Linked DNA regions of Homo sapiens: region 2 is linked to region 1. Evidence: promoter capture Hi-C in human tissues and cell types (Jung and others, 2019). All regions are on one chromosome and are shown on one strand. Each heading gives the region's core, a stretch centred on a gene start or on the middle of the fragment in contact. The rest is flanking DNA. Distances are from core to core; before and after follow the strand shown. Region 1 holds the start of STX11 (syntaxin 11). Region 2 overlaps UTRN (utrophin).

Evidence for each region. Contacts are between HindIII fragments. The study calls those that stand out against the background at their distance.
Region 2: a contact is called between a fragment that was not itself captured here and the fragment with the promoter of STX11 in region 1, in 1 of the 25 tissues and cell types used here (heart left ventricle).

What each region holds. Positions count from the first base shown.
Region 1 is chr6:144,147,693-144,153,506 of GRCh38, reverse strand. It overlaps STX11 (syntaxin 11), which reads right to left and starts at 2,990. Exons shown (of 2, transcript NM_003764.4): 1 at 2,804-2,990. RefSeq lists a silencer at 2,864-3,303. The HindIII fragment of the contact is 13,668 bases long and covers 1-5,814 here.
Region 2 is chr6:144,585,444-144,590,933 of GRCh38, reverse strand. The region is part of intron 51 of UTRN (utrophin); the gene reads right to left. Among named protein-coding and RNA genes, the nearest start is that of SNORA98, 180 kb to the right of the region's middle. The HindIII fragment of the contact is 3,686 bases long and covers 307-3,992 here.

The sequences.
Region 1 (5,814 bases), core at 1,741-4,240:
CTCCGTAGGCCTCCCTCTGTGCCGTCACTAAACAGGCTGGAGTTTCCTGAACGTCCAGTGCTGTTTCACTTCTCTATGGGTGCTGTTCCTTCTGCTGGGTCACCTACAGCAGACAATTCCACTTGCCTGACAATTCATCCTCCTACGTGAAGGTTCATTATTCCATCAATAAACACTTTCTAACACTTATCATGAGACAAGCCTGGGCCAAGTTCAGGGAGTACAATGCTGAATGACAAACTCGACCCTTTCTTTCTCATAGAAAAAGTAACTTTAGGGCTCTCAAAGGAGGAATAAAGTTTGGAAATTAAGGTAAAGTTGTCTGAAATTTAGCATTGTTGCCTTTACCAGTTGGATATCTTAGCAAACTGGGGAAACTTGGAAACCTTGATACTTGGGCATCCAGTTCAAAAGCATCTCAGCAGATTTCAATTGCAACAGTAAACTGTGATACGGTAGATTTATTCATTTTGGCTCACACGGCTATAATGTGATAAAAAACATTGATTTGAACTACAAAAACAATGATCATAAACTCGCTTCAATATAGTGTTACCAATGTATAAACTATTAGGCAGGGCATGGTGGCTCACATCTGCAATCCCAGCACTTTGGGAGGCCAAGGCAAGCAGATCACCTGAGGTCAGCAGTTCGAGACCAGCCTGGCCAACAGGGCCGAACCTTGTCCCTACTAAAAATACAAAAATTAGCCGGGTGTTGTGGTGGGTGTCTGTAGTCCCAGCTACTTGGGACGCTGAAGCACAAGAATTGCTTAAACGCAGGAGGTGGAGGTTGCAGTGAGCCAAGATTGCACCACCACACTCCAGCCTGGGGCAACAGAGTGAGACTCTGTCTCAAAAAACAAAACAAAACAAAACAACCTATTAATTAGTCACACCATTTCCTAAAAGTCATGCTGTTAACTAAAGGTGACTGCAATTGTCCAGGGGTGATAATCAGCTGAATTTCGTTTTACATGGTTATTAAATAACATGAAACATGGTTCATTCAAGCACTTTAAAAACCATACCTTTCAAATTCATACATTTTTAAATCATGTATCAAATGAAGAATAGGCTGCCTACAAAGACAAGTAAATGACTAAACTCAAAAGTTTCCTTGCTCTTCCAGCCATGACCCAGTCCATTCCAAATCCCAGATCTTCAGAAACATCAGTCATATTGGGACAGAAACTTTTCTCTGGGTATAGATTTACCCTAGCACCTATCTCATTATATTGAATTTTCCAGCATATTTAAATAAACTATTAATTAGTCACACTATTTCTTAAAAGTCACACTATCAACTAATCGTGACCGCAATTATCTAGGGGTGATAATCTGCTGAGTCTACTCTTTAAATACACTGGGACCCAGCATATTGAGTTATATTGGCACAGAAACTTCACTCTGGGTATAGATTTACCCTAGTACCTTGCCGGCAGGATCCTATTATTCATGGTTGTACAAGCAAGGTTCAGGGAAGAGGCTGGCACAGAGAAGGTACCTGGTAACTGTTGTTTGAGGCTGAATTCAGCTCAACTCAGCTCCAGTAGAGATGGTGTCCCCTTCTCTACCGTGTTGAGATAGTGTGCAGTCCCTTCCTAAGGGCTGTTACCCACCGCAATAGGACTTGTCAGCTTCAACTTTTAAATTTCTCTGCTCCCGCTGGGACCCACCCGCTTCAAAAATCATCATGTGGTTTTAGCACCAATTTAGTAAACACAAACTGTCTGAAATATTTTGATTTTAGAGAGTTACTTACAATCACCACATTAAATGATACCTTTCTCCCATGCAGTGAAAATGACAGCAAAATGGTCATTGAATAATGAAATTAATTTTCTCTTGGGCATCTGTGGCAAAGCACATGATTTCAATGGTTATCTTAGATCAGCCCAGTGACCTTTACTGGCATGTTGTAACATCAGGCGCCTTAGGAAACTGAAAACTCAATCGTCACTTCCCATACCACTGCCCCAGGTTGGCAGGGCAGGCATTTCACATCTAGAGTCTCATTTTAAAGCAAGCCTCGCTTTTCAAAAGTTCATTAACAAAGTCTCACAATTAAGAGAGCAGCCCTGTGACTCATTTTTGGATACCTGTAAATAACAGCTCCTCCCTCTGCTGAGAAACGGCTGAAACAAGTGCGTGAGAACCACAGGAAGTAATACAGATCTCAGCTGGTGTCAGCGGAGTCTAGAAAAAGGCAGAATTCCCTCTCAGGACGGCGTGGCTCTCGCAGGCATTGCCACTACTTCTCTCCATGTTTCTAAAACAAAGTCTTACGTGGGCTTCGAAGGGACTCCTCGAAGGCTCTATCAATTTCTCCGTCTTTCCTGGCTACTGAGTGACACCGCCAAGTTCAAGTCAAGAAGTACCCATTCTGGTGTTTTTGACACAGTCACCCTACTAGGAAGTGAAGAGGTGATAATAAAAAAACACTCCAGCCTTTCGATTTAAAATAAAAGTAGTCTTGGGTGGACACTTTATAAAGGCAGCCTACCAACAGGTATCCCTAAAATAATTCTTACGAAGCACTAAATCCTAAGTCCCTCAGCCTCTGAAATTAAAAGTAATTTTAAAAAATCATTCTGCTTTATATGAGAAACCCAATGCTGTGTTTCCGAAGGTGCCCAGAGGCGGCGTGAGGACCTGCGCCAGATCCAAAATCCCACCTAAGGCACAGCCGCGGGTCCCGAGCCTAGACAGTGCCCCCGCCCCGACCCGCCCTCCCCGATCTCTCCGCGCACGGGGAAAATAGTCAGGAAGAGAAATGGGGGCTCAGGAAGAGAAAAACAAACCTGGACTGGGAGCGAGAGTGCGAACCGAGAAGCCCCTCTCCCGGCAGGGCGCGCGTCCCCTGTGGGCGCAGCGATGGAGAAGGAAACCTGTTGCGCGACTCCCGGCGGCTCCGCTCCCGGCGCCTCCTGCGGCCGAGGCTGAGTTCCTCCACGGCCGCCCGAGCTCCGCGCCGCCGCGGCCGCATCTGGGCGCCGCCGGCTCAGCCCCCGCCGCTTAGGAAGCGACCACAGCTGGGGACCAGGCCCCGCCCCGGGATGACAGCGCTGGGGCGCGGCGGCAGCCGGCTCACAGAGCGCGGGTTCCCGCCCCACCCAGAGTCCATGCGCTCGGGACCGCCCGGAGCCGGGGACGCGCTCCAGCCCCTCCCGCAAGCCCAGGGGCGTTCCCGCGGGCTGCGCGGACCGGCGCGGGGAGTGGGATGTTTGCCGCCCAAGACACTTCCTCCGCTCGTCCTCTGGTCCCCAGGGCAGGGAGCGCGCTGGACTTCCCCCGGGAATCCCCGCTGCGCTGGTGACATTTGCAGTCCGGTGCGTTGCCGCGGCGAGGACGCTGGAAGCCGTCTCTGAGCGTGGGTGTGGCTGCGGAAGCTGCGGCAGGTCCTGCATCCCTGGGACCCTCGAGGACGCGGGCGAGGAGCCTGCGGTCACACGGAGGCCGAGCACCGCCTTCCCAGAACCCTGCCGACCAACCTCTCTCCAGTCGGCCTCAACACCCGCCGGGCTCATCATTCTCTGGATATCAACTGAGCGTCCCCTTGTGTGCCCACCGCGCTCAAAAATACTGCCAAGACCCACCCTCCAGGTCCCGGCACTTTAACGGGGAGGGATAAATAGAAAGTGTGGATTGTGCCAGGTGGTGGTAAAGCACCTTGAAAAACAAGGCTGAGGCTGAAAAGTAAGGAAGTGATACTCAAAAAAGGAAAAATCGGGCCGGGCGCGGTGGCTCACGCGCGTATTCCTAACACTTTGGGAGGCCGAAGGGGGAGGATCTCTTGAGCCCAGGAGTTTGAGACCAGCCTGAGCGATGTGGTGAAAGCCTATCTCTACAAAAAATAAAAAAATTAACTGGGCGTGGTGGCGCACGCTGTGATCCCAGCTGCTCGGGAGGCTAAGGTGGGAGGATCACTTGAGGCTGAGAGGTCAAGGATGCAGTGAGCCGAGATCGCGCCACTGTACTCCAGCCTGGGCGACAGAATGAGACGCTGTCTCAATTGAATGAGAAGAAAAAAAATAAAACTAAAGAACGAATCCTGCCTTGATGGCAGAATGTTTAGACACAGGAACCACCTGAAAGCTCCCAGTTGCCAAAGATGGAACCATTTGAGCAACGAAGTAAACTAAACAAGGTAGTATTGGATTACAAGCCAAAGTAAAAAAATCCATGAGTCTACACTGATATAAATAAATAATTGAATAAATAAATAAAAGGCGGAGAGGAGACAAATCTCCTATACAGAATAATTCCAAATAATTTATGTAGATCATGTACCCTAGGCTGTGCACAGTGACTTCCTCCAAAATAGTACAATGTGGAAAGGGAAAAACAGTAGGTTTACAATGGAGAAAGCCGACAGACACTACCCCAGCCAGATGTTCTAAGCCAACGTCAACAATCGTGACTCATTGATGGCATGTAGTCAATATGATGTGATGAATGTGGCATATTACATGTGTGGTCTCCCTCCTGGAAAACCATAACCTCAGTCTCATAATGAGAAAAATATCAAACAAATTCCAGTAGTGGAACATCCTACAAAATACCTGACCAATATTCCTCAAAGTTGTCAGGTTATCAAAAGTAAGGAAAGTACAGTCCAGACGTGGCTCACGCCTGTAATCCGTACACTTTGAGAGGCTGAAGCGAGAGGATTGCTTGAGGCCAGGAGTTCGAGGCCTGATCTGGCCGACATAGCCAGATGCTGTCTCTACAAAAAATAAAATAAAATAAGGAAAGTCTGAAAAACTGCCGCAGCCTAGAAGAAACTCAGGAGACGTGAAAACTAAATGTAATGTGGTATCCTGGATGGGATCCTGGGACAGAAAAAGGACTTGGGGAAAAACTAAGGAAATCTAAATAAAGCATGGACTTTCATTAGTAATAAGAATCAAGGTTGATTAATTAGTTGTGAGGAATGTAATGTAAGATGGTAATCATAGGGAAATCTGAAATGGAATTTATGGAAATTCTGTACTACCTTTGCAGTTGTTCTGTAAATCTAAAACGGTTCTAAAAAATACAGTTTATTTTAAAAGAAAGTAAAATAAGAGGGATGAGGTATGTTATATTTTTAAAAATGGGTATATTGCAAAGCCATCTAAGATAAGAGAATCATTGAGGGAGGAAACAATGCAGCTATTGGGATTAAGATCATTTCAAGCCTAGGAATCAGTGGATGTAAAGGCCCCGAGGCAGGAGCATGCTGGGCTTCTGGGAGAAATATCAGCGTGGGCAAAACAGAGTCCAGGAAGAGTGATGGTGGTGGGGCTAGGAGTGGGGAGTAGAGCATGTAGGGCATTGGTAGTCATGATAGTCTTTACATTTTACATTGATTGAGACAGGAAGACTGAAGAATGTTTATCAGAGAAGCTAAATGATGTTGCTGGTTGTTTTTTTAATCTACCGTTTTGTTGAGGACAGATTAAAGGACAAAGATTAAAACAGGCCAACGAGTTAGAAAGCTGTGATGGTTAATTTGATGTGTCAAATTTATTGGACCATGGGGTGCCCAGATATTTGGTAAAACATTATCCTGGGTGTGTCTGTGAGGGTGCTTGCTGATGACATTTTTAATTTTTTTGAGACAGCAGCTCACTCTGTTGCCCAAGCTGCAGTGCAGTGGCATGATCATGGTTCCCTGCAGCCTCGACCTCCCCTGCTCAAGTGATCCTCCCACCTTGGCCTCCCAAAGTGCTGGGTTAACAGGCATCAGTTACCATGCTCAGCTGAGATTAACCTTTGAATCCATGGAGAAGACTGCCTGAAAAAGTAAATTGTGGATGGGGAGGAAAGG
Region 2 (5,490 bases), core at 900-3,399, 440 kb before region 1:
ATATTAACTTATTTAACTCCTACAACAACCTTATGTGTGTGTGTGTGTGTGCATGTGCGTGTGTGTGTGTGTGTGTGTGTGTGTGTGTGTAGATTGAGAGAGAGAGAGAGACTAATTCCAACCCTATCTTCTGAAAAGGGAACTGAAACACAGAGATGTGGAAGGATTTGCCAAGGTTACATAACTGGTAAGTGGCAAAGCCAGAACTGTTTGAATTTAGTCTCACGCTAGACTCGTGTGAACGACTAAAATTCCTCAGAACAACATATTTGTACTTCCTTGTTTCCCATGGAAAATGCAACACTGCATTTTACATTTATGCTGCTTAGCACATATCTCTGATGCATGACAGCCATTCAATACATGTTCTTTGAATTAAATTTTTTAAAAATATATACATATTTCTTATTTTAAACAACTCAGTCTGTTAAGTTAGTTGACTCCTTTCAGTTTCTTTCTTAGGGAGCTATTATGTCCTTTTAAATATAATGATAAAAAACTACATGTGGGTATGGAGAACTGGGTTCAATGAACACATAATTTAACGTTTGTACTGTTAAGAATCAAACCAAATTAAGTTATAAATCAAAAACCAGAACCAACTATTTTAATATGGATGGAAATGACCCAATCCATCTTTCTTATCAAAGTGCAAAATGAACTCATTTTTAAAAATCTTTATTTCCTTAACATTATATAGCCAATACTTGAACATCGAACATCGAAATAGTTTTGAAAAGAATATATTTCCTTACTTTTAAACTTCTAGGAAAACAAGTACATAGCCACCTGCTCAAAACTGTCAGGAACTTTGGAAGGCCGAGGCAGGCAGATTGCTTGAGCTCAGGAGTTTGAGACCAGCCGGCGCAACATAGTGAGGCCCTGTCTCCACAAAAAAAATACAAAAAAATTAGCCCGGTGTGGTGGCATGCACAGTAGCTGTGATCCCAGCTACTCGAGAGGCTGAGGCGGGAGGATAGCTTGAGCCCAGGAGGTCAAGGCTGCAGTGAGCCATGATAGCACCACTGTACTCCAGCCTGTGTGACAGAGACCCTGTCTCAAAAAAAGAAAAAAAAAAAGCTGTCAGCAATAAAACATCCATTATAGACTATCTCTGTTTCCTTATGTCCAAAATGAAATGGTTGAATCAGATGATTTCCAACATCTCCTCATTCTCCAGAATTCCATGTTTTAAAGGAACATGGAATGTTCTCATGCTCCAGCTCATGTTTTAAAGGAGACTGCAGGTGAAATTTCTTTAGACAAGGAAATGCATATGGAAATAATTCAGAACAAAACAATATCTATTACTTAGTTAATGTAATCTCTCTTTCTATATCTTCTATACTGAGTGACCCATTTTATCCCAATATAATTCCAAAAATTCTCTATCTAAAATTACAGGTAGAGAGACACTGGCTATTGAAGCAGAAAATCTATGTTGAACACAAGCTGCACCGCATACTAGCTGAGCAACTAACTACTGGCATGTTCCTTCACTTGCTGACTTGCAAAACAAATTTCTTTCCTATCTATCTCTTAAGGACACAAGATAATATAATATTGTTAATATTACATTTATTAATGATGTAATATATGAGAAAACACATTGTAAACTCTAAAATACTAAAAATGTAAGGAAACTGTACTAGCAGTATCAAGATATTTTCCCATCATAACAGCTAACAGTTATTCTATTGTTGTAGTCAGCCATTTTTCTCTCAATTCTGTTAAAATAAAAACAAAATAGTTGTCTATTGTGCAAACAGTTCAACATCTTCTTCCATTTGATGTTTTTCCAAAATTCTTGCTTAACTTTATGAAGCCATACTTTCACATAAGCCTATTATTTATTAAGCACTAAAAGGCACTGTCTGCTTTTATAAGTGAGCTTTGTTATAAATTAATCTTTTTAGAGTTCCACAGAACTGAACAAACTAGAAGATGAAAAATGAAAAGCAACCCTCTGATGCACTTCACATCCTTTCCAATTTCAATTATTTGGACTCATTTACCTCGCCCAGAAATGAATAAGCTTTGTGAAACTGAGAAAGCTACCAAGGCATAACATTTTCTACATTCTTTTATCTCTATGGTAGGAACTCTACTAATTACTTATTTTAGAGAACTAAAAATAAACTACCAAATATACTAAGAGAAGTTGGTAGTGATCACAGTTAAGAGTAAGAGGAAGGAGCTATGTCTGCACATTTAAAATCTAGCAGTACCTACAGCTAGGAAATTTCCACTTGAAATTTAATAAACTTTGCCTCTAGGAAAACACAAATCATCAACCCTTTAAGTTACAATTATCAAATAATACTCTACAAATAAAAGAGACCTTTTATCCGTATCCTTAATACTACTTCAACTCCATCTCAGAAGGACCTTCTATTTGTTCCGGATTTGTACTAGTATTACACTTCTAGACATACACCAATGATAATGATATCTTGGCTATAAAAGAATTTTAAAATGCTACCTTATAGAATGTATTAGTTATTCTTTAAGTGAGTGACAAAGCATTGCATCAGATCTAATTATACTGTTTTTAGCTAATTATATTGACTTTATCCAAGTCATTGATAGCATGAGTTTTCTGATTAAGAAAATGTTAGTTAATTGGATAACTTTTTAAAAACATAATTTTGACAACACATATCAACTTGGGGAACTACAGCAAAACAGAGGTCCAAGAGCTTTCTAAAATGGCACTTGTGCTCTTGGAAGCCACAGGAATCATGTCTGATAGTGGCAGGCAGGGGTGCAGGTGTTTTCTCCTTGATCCCGTCTCACTTTTGTCTGTAATCTTGACCTGACTAGGAAGTGCAGAAACAAACGCAGAGTAGAGAAAGTAGTCTGTGTGGGTATCCATACAGCTCCCAGGAAACACACCTACAGCATCCATAGAGAGGGTTAGATGGAGGCAAACCCATCTACATACGCCATTTTTCTCCATTAAACCTCAACCTTCACACAGTTTCTGTACTAATCTAACCAAGACTTTCTCATGAAGCCAAGAAGAGACAACTCATATGATCAAGTGGGAATTCTAACTTGCAGACTAGAGGGTCATGACTCTGAGCTCCATGGTTCAAACAATCTATGTATGAGTTGGTTATTGAGAGAAACTGAGGGAATCCAAGAGTTGACCTTAAAATACACACATCTCAACAATCAGATCATGTTAAAGTAAATCTCCATTGCCCTGGATCACTTCAGGATTTAATTGTCCAAGGAGAGCAGGGTTCTCCTGTGAAAAAAAGGTGGGGAAATGTTTGAGAGTAAAAAATACAAAATTCAACCGGTCGAAAATACACCACTCCATTCAGTGTCTTCTAAAAAACCACATACTCAACCTTAACTACCTCTAAATACAGGGAGCTGTACATGTAGATGAAAAATAATATGTGACCTTACTTCATCAGTGAACATAAAAACCTGCTGAGAGATTAATGTGCCTTCATGTTCATTATCTATTTACTCATTAGCACTACAAGCAACTACATAGTTCTGTGTTGTCCACGTCCACACATGAAAACACACACACACAGCCACAAAGCAAGCCTTTTGTAGACATCACTGGTCAATCGTGACTTCCCAGGTGGAATCTTCTGGTCTCTTCTATTTTTCACAGAATATTCAGAAGTAGTTGCTTTAATACCACAGAAGACACAGTATTCCGGGGAAGACTTTGAGATCAGCACCACACTGAAAGCTCAAGCCCCCTAGAAGGCCAGGCTAAGAATAGCCATAGTTTCACTCTGTATGTAAATGACTAGTCACCAAAATCGTGTTGTGTATACCACATAGAGAAAAAGAATCAACTGTGGTACAAAAAGGCAACAGTAGAAAGTAAGAACAAAATTATACACTACTAATATTTAATACATGATTTCACCATGGCATATATGTATAATTTTTAAATGAATACACATCTATATACAGCTAGATGTTTAAAAGATTTTTGCTGAAGAAATATGATCAGAATAGTTTGGGGGGTGACTAAAACCACTTAAACTAAAATGATTTACATATACATTCAAGCAAATAGAAGTTATATCACTTAAATCAACATTTTCTAAAATGCTTGAGTCACGAAGGAGTCAATTTACAGCACTAAATATTTTTAAATTTTTCTCATTTTTCTATAATGTTCATATCCCAATCTACTTTACAGGAAACTGCTTTTTACCATGCCCTCAATTGCTAAATATTTTACAGAAATTGGCACTAAGAAAAAAATAAGGAGGACTTACAAAAATCTCTTCTGATTTAACATTAACACAAATAACCCAGTTCTAATCTAAAGACTTCATGATATAAAACACCCCAAAGTAATCACGTAACAATAAAAACAAATTAAATTCAATATTATTTTTCAAATCATTTACATCAGCTTTTTTTCTACTGTGCTCTACTAAAAGAAAAATTATTTTATAGGCATGAAAATTTTAAAGAAACTAAGCAAACAAAACCATATCTGAGAAAATTAGCATCCAGTGTAGGGTGATTTTAGGTCATCAGGGCAATTTCAATGCTGCTAATTATATCTCCAAGTAAGCAGCACTTACGTTTTTGCTTCCTGCTCAAATTTTATTGGATGTATAACCGAGAAGAAATATTTTTAAAGGCAAAAAATACACGTGAATGTGTAAATAGATTGTGGGAGGGGAGTATATTTTAACTCTGAGAGCTGTGACATGCCTTTTTTCATTCCTCCCTTCTCTTTGAAACATACAAGAAAACCCACAAAATGAGAATATTCTACACAAGTATCTACTCGTGTAACACACACACTATCTTCTGACAAACAAGAGAAGTATGAAAATAAGCAGAAAAGACGAGCTGCCACAGAGGGAAAAGTCTAACAAAAGACTAAACAAATAATACATAAAAAGAATGATCCTCAAGAGGAATTTAAAAGAAGATAAAAATATTCAGACACTGAATTTCAAAATGCCAATATGAATTTTAAATAGTCAAATTTCCCTCAGATTATGCCACATTTTATTCTCATTCATTTTGGTCTCTACATGTATTTACAATAGACTGTTTCTGTATTTTTATGGAGATACACAAACTTAAAGCATTTTTTTCTAAGAAACTAAATTTAGAGAATGTGGGAGGAATAAGGAGAAAGTCAAGACAGCATTTACAATTTAATGGGAAGGGAATTTACAGTGTCTTAAAGCAAATAAATGTCAAACCCATTTAAACTTTTAGGTATGACACATGGACTATTGATAATTAAAATACAATTAAGTATTTTTGGTTGGTATAGCTACCTCTATCAATATTTGAGATGGCAACTGTTAATATTTAAGTCTACAACTAAATTTTCATTTCATTACATTAATATAGCTCAATAACTTAGATCAGTTTTCAAAATATAACCACACAAATAAAATTTATCTGTTACTAGTTTATTTATTTCATAGTAATTGTGCCGCTTCCTAATCTGGATTTCCAGTTCTTTAGGCAAAATCT